2 separate regions of the Homo sapiens genome follow, and region 1 is linked to region 2. The links are contacts of gene promoters, found by promoter capture Hi-C in blood cells and fetal thymus (Javierre and others, 2016). All regions are on one chromosome and are shown on one strand. The core of a region is centred on a gene start or on the middle of the fragment in contact, and the rest is flanking DNA. Distances in the headings are between cores, read along the strand shown.

The links. Contacts are between HindIII fragments. The CHiCAGO score rates a contact against its expected background, and 5 or more counts as called.
Region 1: a fragment that was not itself captured here is called in contact with the fragment with the promoter of TRDN-AS1 in region 2 in 1 of 17 cell types (megakaryocytes); the score reaches 6.4 in megakaryocytes.

What each region holds. Positions count from the first base shown.
Region 1 is chr6:123,703,095-123,708,455 of GRCh38, reverse strand. No RefSeq gene overlaps it. Among named protein-coding and RNA genes, the nearest start is that of TRDN, 69 kb to the right of the region's middle. The HindIII fragment of the contact is 4,492 bases long and covers 1,361-5,361 here.
Region 2 is chr6:123,436,600-123,441,822 of GRCh38, reverse strand. It overlaps TRDN-AS1 (TRDN antisense RNA 1), which reads right to left and starts at 2,219. Exons shown (of 3, transcript NR_110844.1): 1 at 2,046-2,219. It overlaps TRDN (triadin), which reads left to right. Exons shown (of 41, transcript NM_006073.4): 11 at 2,820-2,879; 12 at 3,701-3,760. The HindIII fragment of the contact is 3,987 bases long and covers 1,107-5,093 here.

The DNA.
Region 1 (5,361 bases), core at 2,357-4,856, 270 kb before region 2:
CAAGGATTTGTTGGGAGCCATCTTGACCCCAAATTCTCATGAAATGTTTCTTTCCCTTCTATTTTCATAAATATGTCCTGGGTTTGAAAGATAATCTAGACACTGCTACAAATTTTTGCCATACATGTTGAATTGCCAAAGCAGAGATATGAATCAAAAATCTTGGTCAACACCAAAGTTTCTAATATTTTGCAAATTATACAAGCAAGTTACAAGAGCCATGTGGAGAAAATGAGTTACGGACTTGCTGTTCTTTTCTTCTACTAGGCTATTGTTCTGTTCCACCTCAGTCTACTTCCTTTAGGTAGCTCTTGAGATCCAGACCTATGACAAAGTCAGCCTTTCCCCAGATCCTGTACTAGCAGCTGCCCTCACACTCCTCACTGTGTCCTGAGGATTCTCATGTATTTCATGGGGATTGGCTACTTTCCGATTAAGTCGCGCATATAAATTCTCTGTCTGAGGCCACTCTTATTTAGCATTGCTATAGGACCTCAGCATCTATTTTCCTGATTCCTGACTTTGGATCTTGTTCATCAGGATTCATGGCAGAGAAAAGAAATCACTCAATGTTTTCAAGCAGAAAATAATTCAATACCAGAATTAAGGTGCTTGCAAAATTGTGTTAGAGGATAAGTCAGCGGTCAAAAAATGCTACTGCCATCCAGTGATCAGGAAAGTTCTGCTGTAATAGTTACCACCACTACCAACCTCACAGCAGCCTCTCACCTACATTTATTTTCAAAGAAGCTGGGCCCAGCAGATAGAATAGCTGCTGTGTCCTGCTTATTTGCCTGCTCCAATAAAATAATGAAGAATAACTCCTACCCTTTCTATTTTCCAAACTTGAATGAGTACATCTCAATGGTAGGAGCTAATCTCATCCAGACAACTAATCACAAGGGCATCTGGAAATGAGTTTTTAGCCATATTGTCTGCATAAAATATGAAGGGGGTAGAACATTCCATTGAGTGACAGATAGCAATACCTAAAACAAATTTGTTAACTTTCCCAGTTAAAAAAGCTCATCTTACAGTGTCACATTCTGAGTCCACACATCTGAAATAATGAGTTCCTTCTGCCTCCTCTCAGCATTTCCTTGTCATTTCTTTTCAGTAATTCATGGCCTTTAAGAAGTAGCAGCTAGCTATTTATAATTTTAAAAATTAATGATAATAGATTAATATTTTCACTACTGGTGAAAAAATAATTTGCATTATTACCGAGGCCTTCTGGAATCGTTAGCTTAACTTTAACAATGACTCTATTGGGAGTTTCAGGTTCCATGCCAGCTGACATGGGAAACATGTTCATTTAGCGAGATTTTGGAGCCTCTCAGCTTAGGCCACCCATAAAGCTTGCCCTTTTTGCCTCTGTCCCTAGAGCTGGCCCTAATCTATTATAATGCAGTATAAATCAATTTATTTTATGATCATGAAATTATGAGCAATATTTTTCTATTCTGAAAATAACAATGTGCCAAATAAAATAAATTAAAATTTTCAGTATTTCTGGAGGACTAGAGTGGATTATTATTTTTAAGAATGATTATAAAAATATCCATTTCAAAAGTGACAAAAACATTTCAAATACTTTGAAGTCGATCTTCAGGAACCTTTTGTCTTGGCCTTTTCTGTATTTTAGTCGGTATAAACAATCTCAAAATTGCATCCATTCAAAATCCCAAACTGGTAATTGAGAAAATGGCTTAAAATTCCATTTTTGGAATTTGCTATTTATATGCTAAGTTTGAACTATAATGTGGAATCAAAATTCTTTGAACAATGTTCCCAACATTGTATATCTCGTGATAATTACATTCTTGATTCTCTTATTGTTTGTTCCCTTGCTCATTCTTTTATATTTCTTCCCCTGACTCTCTTTACTTGGCTCACTTTTTTATTATAAAGATTTAAGATTTTGACTATTTTTTTCTTCAACATATATTTCATTGTTTAAAGGAAAATTTTCATTGCCCAACTAGTCTATTTTTTTCAGTAAACTAAACATTGCTACAAAGCTGATATTTTTGAGAAGCATAGAGCCTGGACTGTGATTGTACAGAACACCATGGTAGGAACAGTACTCAGAACAAAATATTCAAGACATTGTGACAGAACAAAAGAAGACACCAAAGAAAGAATATAATGTTTTTCTGCCTCTAGGAAAGGAAAATTTGGTGTTCCTACTGACAGTACCGATTTTTCATTGAGATGCATTATTCACTATTTTTTAAAACAAATTCTACATGCTAATGAATGTCAGGTAGTGTAAACCACAGAGGCTATATCATGAACAGTTTTAATCAGCCATAGAAACCAAATACTGTAAAAACACCCCAGATTTGTACAGAAAGTGTCAGGAAGATGAATACCTGTTTGCTTTACTAGATATCAAAATATGAGTAATACCTAGATGCAAATTTAAGGCAAAAAAATGACAATACGTATGTACACCTATTAAGAACTAGTTGAAAAGGGTGCTACTTACTAAGCTACAAGTAATATATTAAAATGACGAGATAATGCACTGTTTTTGTAATTTTCCCTGAAAAAAGAACTAATGCTGTCATTTCAGTACCAATAAGTTTAAATGTTAAGTGGTAATGTTTAAGTTATTTGTGTAAGAAAGGAGCCACTGTGACATGTTTTATGGGCTGAGTTTAAAAGAGGAGCAAAAGAACATAGGGTCAGCTCCAAATGTGTTAAACCCCATCTAATTCATGCCCATGCTTAGTGCTATGCATGGCACAAACTGGTCCCCCATTATTGTGTGTTAAATTAATAACTGATGCTTCAAAAATAGTGTTTAAAATGTATAGCTTATCACTTATCATTGGATAAGATTTGGATAAAGATTCAATATTTATCTGATCCCACCTTTTTCCAAGTTTTCCATTAATCTCTTTTACATGTATTATTTCGTTTGCTTCTTACAACAATCTGAGTGTGCATTGGGAGGAGGAAACAGTTATAGTTCACTCCAAAGTGATTTCATGGCACTAAGATTCAAATCAAAAAGTTGTCAAAAACATATTACAAAAGTAATACTTGTTATTGCATCAGAAACTGTTGCCTCATCTAGCAAGAAGCAATAGATCCTGACTAGAGAGATGCTGTGCCATTAGAAGGGTACCATTGACGTACATGTTATGGCTGCTGCCAGGGCCCTTTGGACTCCTTGTTCCCACAGACCAGCAGGTAAGAAGAGGAGTTGCCATACCAGCATGCAAAATTGATGCTGATCCCTAGGAAGAGGTAGGGTTGCTCTTACACAGTGGCGTCAGGGAAGCATATGTATAGAACCCAGGTGATCCACTGGGCACCTCTTGCTGCTCCCTTGGTCCATCGTAACTGTGAATAAACATGTGCAGCAACCCTAATCTAAGAAGTGTGTGATTGTCAAGAGTTTAACGCCCTTTGAAATGAAGGTTTGGGTCATATCACCATGTAAGCACCATTACCTGCCAATGTGAGAGCCAATGACAAATGAGGGGGGATTTGAAACAAATAGTGGAAGAAGGAGAGATAAGAAACAATGGCAACCCCCAAATGAGCTACAGCAACTGGGACTATATAGGTCATCCTACACCCTCTGCCTTGCCTATTTGCAATTTCTCTTAGAAAGAGAGGCCCATGGGATCGATAGAGGAGTGTGTCTTATATCAGAATAGGGGAGGTGGATGCTGTGGCCATGAGGCTGTACCTCTCAGGTCTCGGACCATGAGGAGCAGAATTCTCTGAGACCCCCAGTTGCTGTGATCGGACATTGTTGCCACATGTTAATTAGTGGATGCCACATTTCCCATAGACTGCTCTCACCAATGAGTGAGTGTGGCAGGGATTTAAAGGCAGGCCAGGTCCTGGGAGAATCATGTCCCTTCTGACAGCAATTTTGTCTTTCCAATGGTCTTGCTGAAGTTTCCTCTGAACTTCAGTGAATCCTGCTTCCTTCCTTTCCTTTCTCCTTCACTCAGGGTCAGATTAAATTGTGATCTGATGGCTCCCCTCCCCTAGCTTGGGTCTCCCAATTTTGTCTCATAGCTTGCTTCAAGAAGGACCCTGACACAGATGCTTACTAGGTGAAACCTGCCTACTTTTTCACTGGGTAGCTTTTTACTTGTGTTGCATAATGAGCTGACAGCACAACAATCTTACCTTACAAGGCTCACAAGCCTCATATCTGTCAGGAGTTAATCACATTTTCAGGCCTGGGGAAGAGACCTTTCCAGTTTTTGCTGTTCCTGCAGATAACTATCGTAAGACTTTGCTCATTTCCTTTGTTCATTTCAATGTGATGTTGGGAGGAAGAAGTAGGTAACAGCATTTGGTGGGGAAAAAAGAGATACAAGTTGAAAATCCCTTACCTGAAATGCTTGGAACGAGAATTGTTTTGGAATTCCAGTTTTTTTGATTTTGGAATATTTGCAGATATGTAATAAAATAACTTGGGGACAGGACCCAAATCTAAATCCAAAACTTGTTTACATTTCATATACATCTAGCCTAAAGGTAATTTTATGTAATATTTTAAGTAATTTTGTGCCTGAAATAAAATTCATGTTAAGTGCTTATGTGAGCAATTTTCCACTTCTGGCATCATGTGGGCACTCAAAAACTTTTGGATTTTGGACCATTTTGGATTTTCACATTAGGGACGCTCAACCTGTACTGACATGTTGAAATCGAACACCCCCCCTTGAAATCTTTAACAGTAGTTCTAGTAATAAGCTAAACATTGCTCAGTTTTAGTTGTCTCCCTTCCTGCCTTCCCATAGACATGTTAATACATACTTCTCTTTTTTTATATTAACTAATATATTTGTCTATTAATCTCAGCATTATTCCTCCCGCAATTTGGAGTCTGCTCCTTCTTTCAAATGCTTCCACTATGTGGAAACACAAGTACTTCTTTCAAATGTTTGTGTTTACTACTTATGTCAATTTCAATGTATGTGTCCCTCCAAAATTTATAGGTTGAACTTAAACCCCATTGCCATAGAAGTAAAGGGTAGGGCCTTCAAGAAGTGATCAAATCATGAGGGAAGAACCCTCATGTATGGGATTACTGCCCTTATGAAAGGGCTGGAGGGAAATAGCAAAGCCCCTTTTCTCTTCTACCTTCTGCTATGTAAAGACACAGCTTTCCTCCCCTCTAGAGGACTCAGCAACAAAAGGCCATCTTGGAAGCAGAGAGACCAGACACTCCATAGACACCGAACCTGCTGGTGCCTCAATCTTGGACTTCTCAGTGTCCAGAATTGCAAAAGTAAGTTTCTATTATTTATGAATTACTCCGTCTCAGGTATTGTGTTATAGTACAAATGGACTAAGACAACCAGTCATTCATTTAACCACGTG
Region 2 (5,223 bases), core at 970-3,469:
GAGGAACAAAACATAAGACAAAAATAAAACATTTTGCATTTGTTTCCTCGTGGAAACAGCATCTTAGAAAGCTTTGCAATTGTAATTAAATATTGTGTATTGTCTGGCTTTGAGATGGCATAAAAAACATTTAAAAGCAAGAGAAAAGCCCATTGTGAGGGCTTAGAAAGTAAGAAGTAAGTCGTTTAATTTTTCTTTCATCTGATGTTAATTTATGCAGAAGCTAATAACATATTTGTGGCTCAGAGCTGCTCATTGTAGGGAAGATTTCTTTCCCAACCACACTCTTCTGTGATCCCTGCCAGAATACAGCCATCATTTCAGGGCTTATTATACTTTTGTCAGGGAAAGGTAATATTCTGATACTTTCACATCCTGTAGATACATTTAATTTTTAATCTTCTGAACATCAATGGGCTTAAATGCTCTAATTCTTCTCTAGCTGTTACAAACAAAATGGCAAACCAATGAGAAAGAGATGGAAGAGGAAATTTTTTATGTGTGTTCAAAGTCAGGTAGACAGAAAGGGAAGAGTACTCTTGGCTGTTGAGGAAGAAAAAGTCAGGGGCAAGGAAGTTTTCATAAAAGAAACATGGGTTATTTTTATATCCAAGTAGGATATAATCAAATTGTTATGTTTTTATAAGTGAAAAATTTAATTCCATTGCTACCAAATCACCTATATAACAGAGACAATAGTGCTTGAGGAAATGTAGAATCTTGAGAAGTTGACATTTTAAATGAAATTCAGCATGAATAAAGTAAGTCTCATAATGACAGCTTAAAGGTCTAATTCATAAAAATGTTATTAAAGGACATTAATCTGCATTTTGTGGACTTCTGCTCTTATTCATGACTCTCACAGTGTATGACTGTAATCACAAGCAGAGTGTATAATAGGAGCATTAATTCAATTTGGACGAAGACAAGAATACTGTATCACCACAATAAAATTCCAGCTATATTAATTTGAAGGGTAGAATTTGTTGCACAAGAGCATTGTCTAAAAGAAAATTGAAAAATAAATGAATGCCTTCCATATTCTGGGTTCAAATATCTACTTTCTTTGTGAAGTTCGGTGTAAGATTGACTAATTGGCACAAGCTTTTTAATGAAATATTTATTCATCAACCTTATGAAACTTGGAGACTTGGATACTGAGTTCTGATCTTATGGTTAGTATGGCATTAGTGTTTAGCTTGAGCTTAGAAATATTTACAAGTCATTTGTATTTTAATTAACCCCTTTGCTGATACATGACATCAGAGGTGATGCTTAGCAAATGGCTATTCAATTGTCTGGCATATACATTTATTTAGAGAAGATGTAAAATTCACTACTACATAAAATTTCTCCCAGAGAAGCTGAAAGTAGTGATACTTGAAAGTATCTTCATTCAGAATTTTAAATATGATCTACATGTTTAATATGCATAAACCTTTAGAAAAGAAGAAGTGGAAATCAATTGGTTTATTTCTATCTCTGAAACTATCAAAATTTGACTTCTTGACTTTCTACTTCTGATTGGATGAGCTGTAATAGTATGCTGTAGACACTTTTAGACAAAGTGTGAATACATTTTTCCCTGAGACATTAGATTATCTCTAGAAATCATGAAAGGGGTTCTTTATAAATTATATGTCTAACATTGAAAGAAAGTGTTGTCTTTGATCTTGTAGGTAAAAAAGCTCTATACCTATGGGAATGAGTTAATTCCTCTATTTAATAAGATGCAGTCATTAGTAGACAACTTAAGGATTCATTCTAGAACTACATATTGAATTTCTTTAGCATAATAATGATCTTATAATAGTTCTGGGTAACGGAAGTCTTTGAATGTACCTGTACCTGAGATGAGAGACAACTGACAAAGAGAAAGGAATTTCAAATATAAGGTAAATAGCACTGCTAATTGAAGATAAAAATCAGTACATTTACAACATTAACCGTAGCTATTATTGTCCCAAATCTAAAACCACTGAACATTCAATTTCAACAACTATGTATTAGTACAGGACTTTGTTATCTAAAATGATTATGCTTACCAGAAAAGTGTCCAGGGATGTCCACCTGCTATGTGGCTATGCCTGGGCAGCACGTGAATTCTCTGTCTTTGCTCCCTCAGACCAAGGCTGTCTCAGATTTATGAAACAGGGCTCTTCCACGAAGTTTAGAAGTACCACAAACAGTTTGATGTGGCATCCAGACTTACTGCAACCTCTGGGTGCAAAGATTGAACAGCTTTGTTGATACAACCACTCAGAAAGGACCGTGGAAGTTATGTTTCCAACACACTGCCAGACACTTGTCATCAGGCTTAAATGCCTGTTGGCAAGAGCCAGATATGAAAAACAGCTACATCAAAAGATACCTTTTTAATGGTCTAATATATTATTTCTAATGAAATTAAATGTATAAAAGAAAACAAATATTAATTCTTCTAGTTTATCTGCAGTATATTTTCCAAGAAATATATTTTAATTTTATATATCAATACTTTTAGGCACTAGATAAACAATTGTTTGGTTCAGAAAGTTCAAACTATCACATTCATTATTTGTAAACAGTATTAGCAGTCTACAACGTTACACATTTACTGTGAGCCAGGCACTTTACACAGTGTTTTGTAAACATTAACTTTGAGGGAGGTATTATTATTTGATAAATGAGGAAAATAAGACTTAGTGGGATTAAATTACTTGCTCAGTCACAAAGCTAGCTGGAGGCAGAACTGACTTAACAAAAATCCTTCATTTCAACCTTGGTTTTGCTTTCATACTAAATTTCCCTAAAGGAAATATTTTAAATGTATTCTCTAGAAAAAGAAGGGGAAAAGAAGAAGGCTGAGAAGAAAGTTACTTCTGAAACAAAAAAGAAAGGTAGGAAATTTAAAAGCCATGTACCACATAAATCAATTAGTGTCCATGCATAATACTACTGGTAAATCTATTATTTTCTAGGAAAGAAATTCCCTTAATAAATGCATTGTCATTGTTATTAGTGAACACTCTTAACATGTCTAGATATTCCAAATAAAATTAAAATTGTCAATTTTTAAAAAGAGAATTCAATCCTAAACACTTTTTGAAAATTACTACTGTGATTATTTTTTCTTTCTTAAGAGCAGCTGCTTAATTCTCTCTAATTCACTACTTTACTTTAACTATATATGTGAATATGATGGTTACTATTTAACTAATTCAGTCTAATTTTAAAAGTCATTTTATGTAGAGGGCAGAAAATACTTGATTGGTTTGTTTTACACATATATATATATTTTAATTGGTTGTTTTCAAATAATTTATCTGATGTCCCAAGTGAACTTCAGAGATTTCAGAACTTTTGACATGGTTCTGGTGACCTCATAGCTCAGAGAACATTCAATATATTCTTTTCAATATATGTTAGGAAAGCTGTTAAATAATACCATAATTAATAATGCCATTTAATGTTTTCACTGTTATTAAATAATTTTTGCCTTTGGCAAAAAAAAAAAAGTTCTGTTTCCTGAAGAGAAATTATACCTAAGCCACTAGTCTGTTATGAAGGTGCTACCTTATTCATATTTGACATGACTTATGGCTGATTTAAGATTTCTCTATACAAGATAAATTAGATGCCTCACTGGTAGTCATGCATGCCCTGAAATATTTGCAAGTTAAACAGGTAAAGGCTTATAACTTTCTTATTTTACCAGCAGAAAAAGAAGATATCAAAAAGAAAAGTGAGAAGGAAACTGCCATTGATGTGGAAAAAAAAGGTATTGCACTTTCTTTGTTTCCTTAGATGGATTACGTTCAGGATGTTTGCTTCATGAAAGACTCCTCATGCAACATACACAAATTGCACACAGTTACTTATATCTACCCAAGACGTGAAGGTCAAAGCAAAACTTGCACTAGACAAAGTTAAACAGGCAAAGAAGACTTTATTCAAGGCTATTGCAATAGGACAGAGAGACTGGAATTGAGTCTGAACTCAATTCCCCCCCAAAAAAACGCAGGAATGTTTGTAATGGCTGGTATGGGGAATCACAGGACATCTGTTTTTGCATATTGGCTTTTCCCCCTCAAAACGTAAACTTTCAGTCTTATATCTGCATGGTAAGAAGTAGTTTCACAATGTGGAGCGAGGAGTCCAAGGAAGTTAGGCTCCTACTCTTCCACAGAAACTTAGAGATGGGGCACTATCTTTCTTGATGATTACATTTCAAAGGGATGGCTCTCAGTTCCTTGAGAAAGGCTTTATGGGTTGTGAAACTGAAAAGTGGCTTGTAAATGTCCCAGCTACTAGAGTGGCCAAGACAGGAGCATTGCTTGAGCCCAGGAGGTTGAGGCTGTAGTGAGCACCATAATTGCACTACTGCACTCCAGCCTGGGTAGCAGAGGAAGACCCTGTCTCCTCATCCCCCTACAAAAAAAAAAAAAAAAAAAAAAAAAAATCTGTATCTCAATAAAGTAGAGAAAGAATTTACAGTGACAAGTTTTCCAGTTTTCTGAAGTAAATGCTCTAAGAAAAGGGAGATTAGGAGCTGCTGAAGGTCAGAAAGAAACCTATTAAAGTTTAATCAAGGTGAGGACCACCTTGGTCAAGATACAATGAACTTGAGAAGAGATACATAGTAATAACAATACCACATTGCAAAGATAAGAAGCTGAGAAAGAATAATGCACCCTATTAAGAAATAAGGTTATTCAACTATTTGACAGTTTCGATTTTTGCTTTAAATTTTGTTCTGTTTCTATTCTTGTTCAAACATGAATATTGGCTTCGATTCAGGTTAGGCTTAAGTTTACATGGAAAAGACAATCATCTCAAGTATTATGGTTTGGTGATAAGCATTCTCACCTGAAAGATTTCCTCCACTGATGTCAGTGATGCTTAAAATTCTACCATTAGAACCATTCCATTCCTTTGAGTTATGAAGGAATCGTCCCCTATTAAAATGCAGATCTTCTAGGGCTTGTGTATATGGGGTAAAAACCTAATTCCTCTCAGCTATTAAGAACTTAAAGTAAATGAGATTTCCAGATCTTTCCTGTGTAATAGTAAGCTAAAAATTGTACCCCAGAACATGAGGTGGTAGGTAAGCTTAAACGAAGAAGATTGAAAACTTCAGGGTGGGGAACCGTCTGGGGAGGGCAGGCTGGGTTAGACGGCATTTTAGTGAAAATCTTTCCTTTTCTAAGTAGTAATAATGTATGTGGAAAAAATGATGGTGGT